5 separate regions of the Homo sapiens genome follow, and regions 1, 2, 4 and 5 are each linked to region 3. The links are contacts of gene promoters, found by promoter capture Hi-C in blood cells and fetal thymus (Javierre and others, 2016). All regions are on one chromosome and are shown on one strand. The core of a region is centred on a gene start or on the middle of the fragment in contact, and the rest is flanking DNA. Distances in the headings are between cores, read along the strand shown. Region 1 overlaps SKP2 (S-phase kinase associated protein 2). Region 2 holds the start of CAPSL (calcyphosine like). Region 3 holds the start of RAD1 (RAD1 checkpoint DNA exonuclease). Region 4 overlaps TARS1 (threonyl-tRNA synthetase 1). Region 5 overlaps NADK2 (NAD kinase 2, mitochondrial).

Region 1 (2,782 bases), core at 153-2,652, 1.2 Mb after region 3:
TAGCTGAGTATGTGTGTTTTCTAGGACCTTGCTCCTTCCATTTGGTGGTGAACCCATTGATAGCATCTTTGTTTTATTTTCTCTCTCCTCCTCCACTCACTCCCTAGCCCTGATTGATTTCTGTTTCCATAGCAAGTCCGGGTTTAATTCTCACCTTTTCAAAATTTGTACTTACAACAGAGGAGAGCATAGAATATTAGAACCCACTAGGATGGAAAGGGCATGATTTGAAATCAGACCTGAGTTTAAATTCCCCCTCTGCCACTTACTGATTGTGTGACCTTGTCTCTTTTATCATAGTTGCATGTTTTCTTGAAGCCCCAGCCCCCATCTCCCAGAGACTACAGCTATACTGATAGAGGACATTCCCTTCTGCTCTGGGTTTTTGTCTTCAGCCTCATCCCCTCCATATGCCAACAGTGCTGTGCACATAGTCGTTAATTGGTTAATAAGGGTTAGCCATTCACACTAATAAAGAATTAGCACATTCACCATTTGAATGAAGAGGGCTAATAAATACATTTGGCAAATATTTATAGAGTCCTGTTATGTGCCAGGCATTGTTAGGTAATGGATGTGCAAATCTGGGCATGGGGCCTGTGGTGGTATCCTGGGTGGGAATGCTTCTTTGAGCAGGTGCCATTTAAGCTGAAATCTGGAGGAGTTGGGAAGGCAAAGATGGAAGTTGCAACACAAAGTCCTCCAGACTTTGGAGTCTCACATGCAGTCTTCATTGGTTAGGTCTACTGACCTCTGCATTCATCACTATGCCAGATTTTCCTCTAGCACTTTAATTACCTGGCTGCTACTGCTCTTTTAATTGGTCCTGATTTCTTATGTCTTCCTAATAGAAAGCACCAAGTTTGTTAATTTATTTCTCCTGCCCTGTACTTCATAGCAAGCTTTTCTAATTTCCTTTCCCCAGCCATAATTTCTGTTGGTGCCCTATCTATAGCCCCTTGAAGCCCCCCATTCCCTTACATGCCAAAGCTTTTGCCTACGTGTAGATGAGATTCCATGCCTGAGGGCTTTCTCTGGGCAGGAATACTGGGGAGTCCCCAAATAGTGACCAACAGCAATTGATGGATTAATACCCCAGCACTCGTGCCCTTGGTTGAGACAGCTCTGGGGTAGTTTCTAGATGGTTTACTGGAGTCCCCAGAAGATTTGAACCCCAATTGCCCATAGGGATAACCTGCCTATTAGCCTACTCCAGGTTGGCTTTCTTCCCTTCCACCTCTGTCTTCTCCACTCTTTCTAGTGCTTCCTGGCATCACTTCCCAAATAAACTACTTGAAGTCAGAGCTTCAGAATCTGCTTCTGGGGGACCCAAACTTAAATAAAGGGCAGATACGGGGTTTTGGTAAGTCATACCATGCAGACCTTGTCCAGTGTCTGCCCATGGGTGAAAATTCAGAGCAGCACTGAAAAGGTCATTGCATGAAGAAAATACCCAGACTTAACTGGGAAAGGAGAGGAATATAGAAAAGAAAGTTTTACTCCCTGCTGCATTATTTAATCTTTTCTTGTACCTCATTTACTCTTCACTGAACAATTTTGCAAGATAAATCTGTCAATTTCCTTTCCTGCAGGTAAAGAAACTGAGGCCAGAAAGATTAAGTAACTTGCCCAAGTTCACAGACTTGGGGCAACACAGCCAGGATTCTGATAGAAACTGTGCTGCTTTCTCAGTCCAGTAGTCCTCAAATGTGTTGAGGAGGCCCAGCGTATGGTGTCAGTATGATTTTTACAGATTATAGTAAAATCTCAACATATTAGATTCAAAATAGCTAAGTATGTTATTGAAGTATAGTTAAGCTTACTCTTCCATAGAGGCCACTTCCTCCAGGAAGGCTTCCTTAACCTCTGCACCATTCCCATGTGCTGCACAGCACCCTGAATCCTGCTGTAGCCCATCAGGATAGTTTATTGAAATTTCCTGTTTAATTGTTTGTCTGTATCTCTCAAACTCAGAGTAGAATAAGGGTCAGGATTGTACCTTACTTATTGTTGTGGCCCAAAACCTAGAACAGACCTCAGTGTATATAGTACATGGTTAATAAATACGTGAGTGGATGACTATACTTATAGCTAAATATAGTTATGCCCAATCAATTACTAGATTCTGATCTAGATATGTAAGAGGCAGCAGAGGTCTGAGAGAGTTGGATTAATGGGAGAAAAACTTGAGAAAAGCCTGTCATTCAACTTTGTTTTCAATTTGGGGAGCAGGGCAAGAGCCTGGTTTGAGAACCTTTGTCCCCTGCCCATGTTGACTTTGGAGGAACTTTGTGGCAGTGATGGAACAGCTGCCACGTCGAGGAGCCTCCTCACAACCTCCAGCTGCCTCCCCAGATCAGCAGGGGTGATCTGCCTTCAGCTTTCTACCCCTAGCTTTCAGGGCCTCAGTCAGTCCTTTAATTTTGTCCCCTGAAGGGCGTGAGGCTAGGGGAACAGGCATTCATTGAACAACTGTGTATCTCCTACTCATTCTTCAAGAGAGGCCACTTCCTCCAGAAAGGCTTCCCTAACCCCTGCGCCATTCCCATAAGCTGCACAGCACCCCGAATCCTACTGTAGCCCATCAGGATAGGTTATTGAAGTTTCCTGTTTGTCTATATCTCTCAAACTCTGAGCAGAATAAGGGTCAGGATTGTGCCTTATTTATCATTGTGTCCTTAAAACCTAGAATAGACCTCAGTGTATAGTACATATTTTATAAATATGGGAGTGGATGAATGTATCAATTTTATGCTAGTTCCTGAAAATACAAAAATTGTTA
Region 2 (2,700 bases), core at 109-2,608, 1.0 Mb after region 3:
AGACCCTTTGATGGTCCCCCATTGCATACAGGTAAAATGAAAGTTCTTAGCATTGAATTCATGCATTGGCCTTTCCTATGTCTCCAGCCATTTCTAGTAATTCTCCATCCGTTCAAAATCTATCCTGCATCTCTACTCACTCACATTCCCCAAACACACCATAGCATTCTGTATCTCTGTGCCTTTGTACATGTAGTCACACTTGCAGGTACACCTTCTTTTTCCTGTTGGCCCAGAGAAGTCCCACCCATCCTTCCATGATCATGTGGTGAAGTCCAAATAGCATTCACATTGCAAGACAATGTAATTCGTTTTCGAATTACTTGCCCTGCTAGACAGACTATAAGGTCCTTACGAGGTAGAGCTGTATCCTTTGCATTTACTATCACCATATCATCAGGGCTTAGCAGGAGGCTATTTTATTGCTATTAGAATTTATCATTGTCATTGCTATTGGGTAATTTTTATCAGAATATAAATACAAATGTATGCCTGAAATTCAAATCTCAATATTTAAAACTTTCAATAACAAAATAGATTTTTGTGGTTGTAGGATTTGAGGAAAAAATAAGTCAAAAAAAAAAAACAGGTAAGAATTTCATCTACTTAATATGGTTTAAATACTCCCCAGACTGAAGGCAATAGAGATGGCTGCCTGGGTCATTGGTGTTGTCCTTTAATGAGAACGTAAAGGACCCCCTCAAGTCTCTGATGAATCAAATCAACTATTTGATATAATTTTGAACAAGCCATGTATGTACACTTTAATAAGCATCCTGATTTTTATTCTGATTCTCAGTTGTCAGTGTATAGCAGAAATAGCATAAGTTTAAGTATCAGACAAAGCAAGGTCTGAATGAAAGTTGAAATGTTTTATTGCTTTGTGACTTGGAAATGCTGAACCTCCCTGAAGCTCAGTTTTATCAGTGGTCATCAGGATCGTTAGAGCAATTCACCCAAACCCTTCACACTCAAATACCTAGTACCTAATGACTGCTCAGTAATGTTTACTTCCTTCCCCTTTACTGAATGAAATTTATTTTTGTGCATTTTTATCTAAGCATTTTTTTTGCAAAGATTACAAAAATCTTTCCCAGTACCAAGCTCTTTCCTCTTGCACTGACAGCCTAGTGATGGCTTCTCTAGTCCAAGAACTCTCAAAAGACTTTTAGATTTTCTTTTTAGAGAGTAACATCTACTGTCTTCTTTTCTCAGCTAAGACATACCAAGAAAAAAAAAAACATTAAATCATAGAATAGATAAAAACATTGATTTACCTTAAATGCTAACCTTTTGCCACCAGTTGCTTCGAACTGAAACTATGGACGCTGTCTCCTGCATCTAGGAAAACTGGTCCCTCCCAAGCCACCTTAGCCTCCTCCCTCTTACCTGTCTTCCTCAGGGGCCCTGGTCCACTCTCTTAGTATTAATTGGAGGACCTGGGATCACTGCTGCAGATTCACAGCCTGATTGGCTCAGCTCACTGTCAATCTCTACTCTGGTTCTGCCTTTTCTCAAGTTTACACTCCTGTTGCCTAGGAAATCTCAGTGACTGTGAAAGCTCAAGCCATTTGCACTGGGAGAGAAGCCAGCCAGAAGTTTTGCTGGCAATGGTTTGGTTTCTAGAACAGCATCAAAACTTGTCTCCCATGTTTTGTAAGGTAGTATTCAGCACATTGTCTTCTTTCTTTTAGGCAGCACCTTCCTGTCCTTCTGTAGTCCCCAGAAAGCTTACTGCTAGGGTGCCTCATTGCCAGGTGATACTTAAAACCACAACTCTTGGGAGCAGGCAGGGGTAATTATAGGTGATTCAAGGTTCTCCCTCCTTCTCTGCATTTGCAGAGGATGTCATTTCTGCTGTTTTCATCCTTGGTTTCTTCTCTTCTTTTCTCTTTTTGTTTCTTTTTACTTATGTTTTTCACATGTTCCCTAGCAGTTACTTTGCCAGATAAGAAGAAATCTAGTGGCTTATTTGGAGGAAAATATCTACACTATGCTCTCTTTCATTGTGTATCTATGACATCCACCCTATCCTTGTCATTCCCACTCCTGCACGTCCTGCTTTCAGGAGCAGGCAGGTATAATTAGTGGTGATTCAGACCTTACACCTCTCTCTTTCTCTCTCTCTCTCTGACACACACACACACACACACACACACACACACACACACACACACACACATCTCTGTATATAACATAATCCTGGCTGTGTGCAACATCCTTGCAGTATAAGAACTCACAAAACGGAATAGATGCCAGGCACCCAGCTCTGCAGACTACTAGGCAAGTTCTTTCATGGATTTGACAAGGGCTTGGGTCCTTTGCTATATCTGCAGGGAGTATACATAGTAGCTATTTCATCCTTTTATCTGAATTGTCTGAAGAATTGTCCCAGAATTAAGCAATTAGAACTGTGGTTCTTCCAGGGCAACCTCAGATGTCTAATGTTTTCTTTTCAGTGGTTTAACCCACAAGATATCACGCATTTGAAACTTTTAAGAAGAAACTTAATTTCATCTGTGAATGCAGAAGCAAATATGAGGGCATGGGCATTTAAATATGAAGTATTTCTTGAAAGCCACCTACTGGAGAGTAAGTTTGGTGCAATAATTTAAGAAAAGATAAAAAAGAAACAGGAAAATTGGGACAACGGACAGCATGATGGAGCCACCGTGCAAGCCCTCAATAGTCTGCCTCCAG
Region 3 (2,700 bases), core at 5-2,504:
ATTCAGCGTTCTTATCCCAATTCAGCCACTTACCAGCTGTGGGACTGTTGGCAAATCACTTAAAATTGTGCCTCGTTTCCACATATATAAAACGGGAATAATAACAGAACCTACCTTACAGGACTATTGTTAAGATTAAATAAGTTAAACAATAAGAAGACTGTAGCCTAGCCAATAGCCTAGTTTAATAAACTTTAGTCATTACTAACCATTATCTCTGTAAAACAAGATGGGAAAAGAATTTGTTACCGGGAGAGAAAAAAAATTCAAGTAATGACGTTTTGTTCTCTAACTTAAGACTATTATTTATTTATTAAGTTATTTATTATGACTATTGACAAGTTATTATGACTATTAAGTTATTTTGTCTACTGAAACCTTCCGATTTCATTAAATTACATTTAGAGTATCTATGGCACAGGCTTAAAGGCGCCTACTTCCATACCTGAATAAAAGCATTTGCTTGCACACACTTTGCATTTTCCACTGTTACTTTGATACCATTTTTAGTTGCGAAACACGTGGCATGTTCTCGGAAATGAATAGCTTTCAAGATAGTGGAGAGATTCCTAACGTTGTCAAGGCTGGCCACAAGGCTGTACTGATCATCCTCGTCTTGGATCTGTTGGGTCAGAAGGGGCATCGTCCACTGCGCATTCGGCCCCGAGGGATGCTCCTGGGGCCAACAACTTCTCGGCGGATCGCCAAACACCTGAAGGGATTAGACAGTAAAACTCCCATCAGTGCTGGCGAGGTCCGGCGAGCTCCACCTGCGCTGAGAGGTGGAAAGGGGCTGGGAGGCTGAACACGGCTGACCAGGCCGAACCCCACCTATGTCACTTAACTATCTTTGTAATTCTGGAGGAAAATTATCTAAGCTACGGTTTCCTCGTCTCCGTAAGAGGACAATAACGTGAAAAGTTGTGAAGAATGAAGACACGCAACTGACACGGTATCTCCCGGCCAAACAGGAGCTACAAATCCGCGGGGAGTCGGTTTTGTGCAGCCCGCGCCACCAGCCCCGCCTCCAACAAAACAGGCGATGGCGGGGCGGGCCCGGAGTGTCCAGATAATCCTCCAAGAGTCCCAGACAACCCCATTCACCAGCCCGCCCGCGGGACAGCATCGCTTACTAGTCTCGGGGTCCCCGAGTGCGGAAACCCTACCTTTGCGGTGGGGTCTGGACGCCCGAGAGCCCTTCTCAGCAAAGTCCCTGAAGAGGAGCGAGGCGGCTCCGAGGAACCGCGGAGGAAGTGAAGCCAGTCCCGCCACTCTTCAGACCGGCCCTCCACCTCGGCCACCGTCACCACAGAGCTGAAGGAGGCCTAGAGAGCCGCGCGTGCCGCGCCACCGAGACCGGAAGGAGGCGGCACAGACCTGGAGGACGACCGCGGAGCTGAGCGCTTAGAGCCGCCGAACCATAGAGATCGGAAATAGGAGCGAGCGGCAGCGCCGGAAAGGAGGCCAAGAGCGCGGGCGGCGAGGCAAGATGGCGGCAACCAAGAGGAAACGGCGTGGAGGCTTTGCAGTTCAGGCGAAGAAGCCAAAAAGAAACGAAATAGATGCGGAGCCGCCAGCTAAGCGGCACGCCACAGCAGAGGAGGTGGAGGAAGAAGAGAGGGACCGGATCCCAGGCCCCGTTTGCAAGGTAGGAGGGGATGTCCCCGGGCTACACCTGCGGCGGCGGCTCTGTGCGCCTTTTCTTGGGTTACTTACTTGACTACAGCCTTGCTTAATTTCAGAGTAGCCCGGGTGTTAACGGTAGGTCGGTTTTAGCAATTCTCCCGGCCAGACTGGGCACGGAGTTTGCAGCTAATCCTTGTGCACGTGGCCGTCTTCCTGGAGGCGGCGGGTTTTAAAACCTTTACCCGGCCCACGGGGAAGCGACTTACAGGGTGCTCAGATCCAGCGTTCTTTCTTACTAGTTGTTCAGTTGTTTTTTTTTTTTAATGTTTTTGGAGAGTAGTGCTTTTCCTTGGTTATTTCTCGCTATTATTTCTCCAGTGATTAGTATGCCCATATACTGCCATAGTCAGCCACTCTCAGTCAGGGATCCTGAAGTACGTTAGGGGAGCCTTTAAAAAGTTGTTGCCCTTGGGACTGTGACTCTGACTTGTTAACCAGGTCATTAACTCAAGAGATACTGAAAAATAGACTAGGTAGTATGAGCTTTACTTGTATTCAACAGACATTGAATGTGCCATGCACTGTACCAAGTTAGGCTTCCTTTGGGTTTGAGATTGCAAAGATGACTAGAATGTGACCTCTTCCTCCTGAAATGTTGGAGTTTAGGAGGAAACTTAAGAATTCAAATAAGTTGATGGTTTTTATTCAAAAGAAGTGCACACAAGTTGTTAGAATTAGCTTTCATTCAACTAAGAACTCTTCTTAAGCTAGACAGAATACTGTGAACAAGGATTATCTTTGACATTAATTTTTGCGTCCTCCGCACTTAGCATAGTACTCTAGCGCGGAGTAGGTGATAAGTAAATGACCCCGTGTGGTGTGATGGCAAGCTCTAAGAAAGAAGTGAGCTCTGTGGAATGAAAGATAAGTGTAAATTCTAGCCCCGTTATTAACAGCAACATTCTGTGCTCTTTTCTGACCTGCAGATTGGGGGGCAGGGGGAGGGAATATTTACTTTTTATGAAAAATAAGCTGGACTTGTACACTTCCAGTAAATGTTAGTGTTCTCACTCT
Region 4 (2,700 bases), core at 52-2,551, 1.4 Mb before region 3:
CTATTCCTGTTACTGCACTCAGTAGTTTTAGTTACAAATGATGACAATCAAAGTTATGTTCCATGGTTGAGTGCACTTTGTCTTATTTGTATGTGAAAACTCACACAGTAGGAAGAAGTTCTGTATTGGTTAACTGAGTTCTCAACTGGAGACAGCACTGACTTCCCCATTTCCCTTTGCGGGTAGGTGGCATTCCAGATTATGTGGTGGTAAGCTTTTCTTTTGCGGGGAGAGAAGACAGGGCAGTACTCCTGATACCTAATAACTATAGAGCAGACATGTTAAACACCCTGTAATTATCAGGCCACTTCCCCAACTGCAGAATTGCCCATCTCACGTGCACACACAGGACCCATGTTGAGAAAAATGAAGAAACTGATGCCTTATTCTTTAAAGTAGTTATAAGTTGAAGATGTAGACCTATCTTGGCATTCTAAAATTCTGTAACAACCCTTCTGAAATGGGTGTAATAAAATGTCAACAGGTTAATTGGTTCGTGATCACTGTGGCTTAAAAATCTAGTTAAAATGCTAAGACTTGTGCACAGTATAGGCAAAGTCACTTAGATTGTTTCAAAAAGTATGCCTTATAGAAATAAACATTTGACATACATAAATAACCCTTGGTTTACACATAACTCGCATTTGAGAAATGAATGTGTTGTAGATCATTTAGAATCTTTTTCAATCAAAAATTGAAAGAAATATTTCGTCACCCAGGTCAACCAGAGATTGCTGGTTTTACTCATGATACTTAAGTAGAGTATGATAGTTACTATTTCACCTTCAGCTGTACTTAAGATGTTTTCCTGGAAAAATTCATTCTGCTTTCTGACCAGGATTTCCAGAAACTCTGACCCTTCTAAGAGGTCTGGGTGGAATTGTGATGGTGATTCTGCTAGTAGACAGTGTAACTTCTGCGTCTACAAAAAGAGGATAGGCCGTCACTGCTCACATGGCTTTGCGTGAAAGCCCAATGGTACTGTCTCTATGGCAGAGATGAGGAAGGAACACCAGCGTCCTCCAACTTTCCTGTTCTTCCTTTGGGTTAATGGCCACTGTAAGGAAACAGTTTTCTGCCACGTGTGGGGTGATTTGAATGTAAAATGCCCAACTCTCATAGCAGGCTGAACAGAAACATTTTTTATACTCATTGTTAATTTGTTCTAATCTAAATTACTTTTAGACTATTAAATATTATTCTATTTTAAAGTTAAGGGACTAATGCCTCTGATAACCTGATTAAAAAAAAAAACTTTCTGATACTCAGAAGTTAAGATTTATTCAGTTGAAGATCATTTCTTTCAGGTGTTGATCGTGTGATATTTTTCACATCTGTAATCTGAGGTTCATATGAAATGATAGTGAAATAAAATTGTTCATTTAGGTCTTTTTGTCATGTTAATATGTTATCAGGTTAATGGGAAGTTTAATCTAGTTAATGTAAAATTAATAAATTGTAATCTAGTTTATTGCTTTTTTGGAAAAGAATACTGAAAACATTGTTTACTTAATACACATGACCTGAGGTAATAAAGAGGAGCTGGCCTTTTTGAGGGGGGAATAATGGCAGTGAATAATATTATCTAAGACAGTTTTGCCAGCTTTAAATTCCTGGAAGTTCATCCAAGAAGTCCTGATCCCTGTGTTCAGTAAAATCATGTGAGATCAAAATATAATTCTGATTTTAGATCTGACAAATTCTGTATCTCTGTTACAATAGGTACGACAACAATTCCACGATGCCAAATTCATGGCAGACATTGATCTGGATCCAGGCTGTACATTGAATAAAAAGATTCGAAATGCACAGTTAGCACAGTATAACTTCATTTTAGGTAAGAATGGAAACTTACCAAAGAAAATTTGCCACACCTCAGGAAAATCTACTGAAACCTTGAGACAGGTTTAAGTGAATTGTAATCAAGAATTTATTTAGTTCCTTCCAGTCCTGATTTTTTTTCTATTATATATTTTAATATATAATAACTATAAAAATAGGCTCATGCATACATACTGGGTTTTTTTTTTTTTCACTTAAATCATGGATGTCTGTGAGAAAATATTTTGCTATTATAACAAGAATGAAGACGCATTGCTTTTAAACACATCTATTGGATTACTTTCTCAAGATAATGCCTTATGTGGGATTACTTGAAAAAAGATATTCATGATGTTTGGGGTTTTATTATTTGGTTGTTACGTTGTCTAGATTGACTCCATAAGCACAGTAGTTTTAGATATTGCAAAGAGTTTCTTTTAAATATCAACACATGGTCACTTGTACCTTTTAATGTATCAGAAGCTATGGGGTAGGTTTTGGGTCCTAGGATCATTTCTTTTCAGATGTTCAGTGTGAATTCTTCCATATCTTTAGATTAAGTCTGACAAAGCTTTGTGTGTTTGTTTTAGTTGTTGGTGAAAAAGAGAAAATCAGTGGCACTGTTAATATCCGCACAAGAGACAATAAGGTCCACGGGGAACGCACCATTTCTGAAACTATCGAGCGGCTACAGCAGCTCAAAGAGTTCCGCAGCAAACAGGCAGAAGAAGAATTTTAATGAAAAAATTACCCAGATTGGCTCCATGGAAAAGGAGGAACAGCGTTTCCGTAAAATTGACTTTGTACTCTGAAAACGTCAATTTATATTGAACTTGGAGGAGTTTGGCAAAGTCTGAATAGGTCAACCTGCAGGCGTAA
Region 5 (2,767 bases), core at 147-2,646, 1.3 Mb after region 3:
CTGAGCTTAACCTCAAAAAAAAAAAAAAAAAAAACAGGAATTGGATAGAGGAAGAAGAGCATTCAAATCAAAGGAGGCTACAAAAGTAGACACATAGACACTGAGAGATGCAAATTCAACCACCCTGAAATACCATCTTTCACCCACCAGGTTGGCAAAGACCCAACAATTTAATGAACTATGTATGGAAAAATAAGTCCCCTTATACAGGGCTGGTGAAAGTAAAAATCTGTATAATCTCTAAGGGAAGCAATTTGGCCAAATCTGTTAAAACTTTATATGCACAAGGCTTTTGACTCAACAATTTCAACTTTAGGTATTTGTCTTAGAGCTTGATTTACATGCATATAAACACAAATGTTATTCATTTCAGAATGTGTTTAATAGCAGAAGATAAATTAGGACACAAAATAAAGTAACATACATACTATTTTTAAAAAGAATGGGAATGTTCTTTATGACAATCTCCACAAATGCTGTTAGGCTAAAAAAAAAGGCACATAATAGCTTAAATAGTATATTATCATTGAATAAAAAGAGATGAGGCAAAGAAAAAGAATATTTCACTGTGCTGATTTGTAGGTATAGGTTGCTTCTGGAAGAAAACACAAGAAATTGATAACAGTTACTTCCAGGGACAAAACTGAATGACAAATGACAAGTAACAGAAAGACTTCTTTGTATAATATTTTGTATCTTTTATATTTTGAATCATTTTATGTGCTACTGATCCATAAATTAAACTAAATCAGTACAACATCTAATGGAAATTAACACAGTTTGAAATTGCTAGAATATGAAATTTAAGACAAGAAGTGATCAGAAGTGAAGCTCAAGAGATAGCCAGTTCATGAAGGGACTTATCTGCCATTCTAAAGATCATGAACTTGAGCCCACAACTGTGTTTCTCAGTTTAACTGGGGACCACATGCCAACCAGGGATAAAACACATCCCTGGAATTCAGCCGGAGTCATTAATTTCAGGTGTGTGCTTCATAAAACCAAAGTCTGGGAATTCTCCACAAACTGAGTCAGAGTCTTGCGGGGCTAAGGTTCAGGTGTCTGCATTTTAACAAGTACTCTTGGTGACTAAAGGGTACAGGGAGCTTCTGTGGAGTTCCAAGCAAAAGAGAGAAAGGGCCAGATGTTCACTTTAGATAGACACTCTGGTAACTGTGTCTAGAAGATTTGAGAGGAGCAAGGATTCAGTTAGAAAGCTCTGGCAGTACTCCAAATCATGCTCTTTAATTTGATTAACAATCATATTGTATGTAATATACTTATTGCATACAATGTAGCAAAAGTATACCACCTGACAAAAGTATACCATGGTACGCTTATTGCATACCCTGTGGCAAAAGTATTATCTGCCCAAGTGCTACAACCTAAGCCACAAAATCTTCAGAAAACAAAAGGGAAATCCAAGGTGCTACACCTTCCAAGTCATCTAGTTTAATCCAATAACACGGCAGACTGTTAAATGAAATTATTCTATCCCATTATGAATTTTAAAAAACAAAACTAAAAATAGGAACCAGTAAAAGGGTTGCCGAGTTGTGAGACCTGGAATGATGGAGAGGAGGGCAGAAACTGCTGACTTCTTATTTGTTCTACATTAAAATTTTTTTTCCTTATTCAGTTCCCCATCCCTGGTGACAGGTGAAAAAGAGCTTTAAATAAAACCTTTTTTTGACCAATGAGGTATGTTTCTGGTGTCAAAATCCTTTCCAAGTCAGTTTTGTTTCATCTAGAGTTCTAATTTGTGTCAAGGACCCTGTTAATAGCAATTGCACATTTGCCAACAGCTACATCTCTTAATGATGCAAGTAAATTGTAATAATAGTTTTACTGGCCTTTGAAAGGTCATGAGACAGTAGAGGTAAAATGTTTGACCAGAAATCTGATATCACAAAATAAGTCACTGGTCAATCAATGGGGAAAAAGACAAGATTTTAAAATAAAGCAATGTAACCAATATGAAACGGTAAATAAAAGTCAAAACTTTGACTAGCTTGAAGGTTGTAAACCTATTCTGTGCATGCCTTATCAACTAAAAAATATTTCCTGTAATTGTTTACATTTCTACAAAGTTAGAAAATCATCAGCCTTCAGGGTATAAAATTATACTGGCACTCTATCCTTCATCTTCCATTTGCATTTTAACAAATAGCCTAAAACAGACCTGTTTTACATCAAAAAACCACCACCACGACAACAAAAGAGAATGCTTTGACAAAAAACCAAGTTACCATGACACTATAGACACAGCAGCCATGGTGAGACTCAAGCACTTGGCCACTTTCTTTTATATCCATCCAATTCACATGATTCACATAACTTAGTATTTTCTACCCCAGCAATATAACAAATAATACTTATCATCTTATCACTCCTATTACAGAATCCCATTTTAGGACAGCTTCACACAGCCCAGTATTCTTTGGCCTGTTAATAATCTCTCATCTGGTCTACAACTAATGCTATTGCATTCTGAGTATGGGCCTTTATATAAACTATAACACAAATTCAAATCAGTAAGGAACTTATCCAATAAAACTGTAATGACAACACCACCAACAAAAACTATTCCACTGCCTGGCAATTACAAAACTGTGTATTCTACAGCCCACGAGTTTTACTTCAAAGCTGGCTTATCCCAAACAGCATTACCTAGCAATAGACAAATATTTACCTATTAGAGATTTCTCCACTCAGAACGGGTACACTTAGGTAGTTTGACTTTTTAAGACTTATTGATTTTCCCTAC

What was found. Contacts are between HindIII fragments. The CHiCAGO score rates a contact against its expected background, and 5 or more counts as called.
Region 1: a contact is called between a fragment that was not itself captured here and the fragment with the promoter of RAD1 in region 3, in 1 of 17 cell types (naive CD8 T cells). The highest score is 5.4, in naive CD8 T cells.
Region 2: the fragment with the promoter of CAPSL here is called in contact with the fragment with the promoter of RAD1 in region 3 in 1 of 17 cell types (naive CD8 T cells); the score reaches 8.9 in naive CD8 T cells.
Region 4: a contact is called between a fragment that was not itself captured here and the fragment with the promoter of RAD1 in region 3, in 1 of 17 cell types (erythroblasts). The highest score is 7.1, in erythroblasts.
Region 5: a fragment that was not itself captured here is called in contact with the fragment with the promoter of RAD1 in region 3 in 2 of 17 cell types (naive CD8 T cells and monocytes); the score reaches 9.2 in naive CD8 T cells.

The regions. Positions count from the first base shown.
Region 1 is chr5:36,158,512-36,161,293 of GRCh38, forward strand. All of the region lies in intron 2 of SKP2 (S-phase kinase associated protein 2), which reads left to right. Among named protein-coding and RNA genes, the nearest start is that of SKP2, 7.8 kb to the left of the region's middle. The HindIII fragment of the contact is 828 bases long and covers 989-1,816 here.
Region 2 is chr5:35,937,264-35,939,963 of GRCh38, forward strand. It overlaps CAPSL (calcyphosine like), which reads right to left and starts at 1,359. Exons shown (of 5, transcript NM_001042625.2): 1 at 1,278-1,359. CAPSL-DT (CAPSL divergent transcript) reads left to right here and starts at 1,538. Exons shown (of 2, transcript NR_104630.1): 1 at 1,538-1,661; 2 at 2,460-2,700. The HindIII fragment of the contact is 5,426 bases long and covers 1-1,728 here.
Region 3 is chr5:34,914,250-34,916,949 of GRCh38, forward strand. It overlaps RAD1 (RAD1 checkpoint DNA exonuclease), which reads right to left and starts at 1,255. Exons shown (of 6, transcript NM_002853.4): 1 at 1,167-1,255; 2 at 446-712. The coding sequence starts at 643. BRIX1 (biogenesis of ribosomes BRX1) reads left to right here and starts at 1,462. Exons shown (of 10, transcript NM_018321.4): 1 at 1,462-1,648. The coding sequence starts at 1,490. It also overlaps a transcript of TTC23L not described here. RefSeq lists enhancers at 839-1,444, 891-950, 971-1,870, 1,445-2,050. The HindIII fragment of the contact is 14,569 bases long and covers 1-2,700 here.
Region 4 is chr5:33,465,149-33,467,848 of GRCh38, forward strand. It overlaps TARS1 (threonyl-tRNA synthetase 1), which reads left to right. Exons shown (of 19, transcript NM_152295.5): 18 at 1,723-1,837; 19 at 2,412-2,700. The coding sequence ends at 2,560. Among named protein-coding and RNA genes, the nearest start is that of TARS1, 26 kb to the left of the region's middle. The HindIII fragment of the contact is 2,178 bases long and covers 213-2,390 here.
Region 5 is chr5:36,236,854-36,239,620 of GRCh38, forward strand. All of the region lies in intron 1 of NADK2 (NAD kinase 2, mitochondrial), which reads right to left. Among named protein-coding and RNA genes, the nearest start is that of NADK2, 3.7 kb to the right of the region's middle. The HindIII fragment of the contact is 3,457 bases long and covers 1-2,767 here.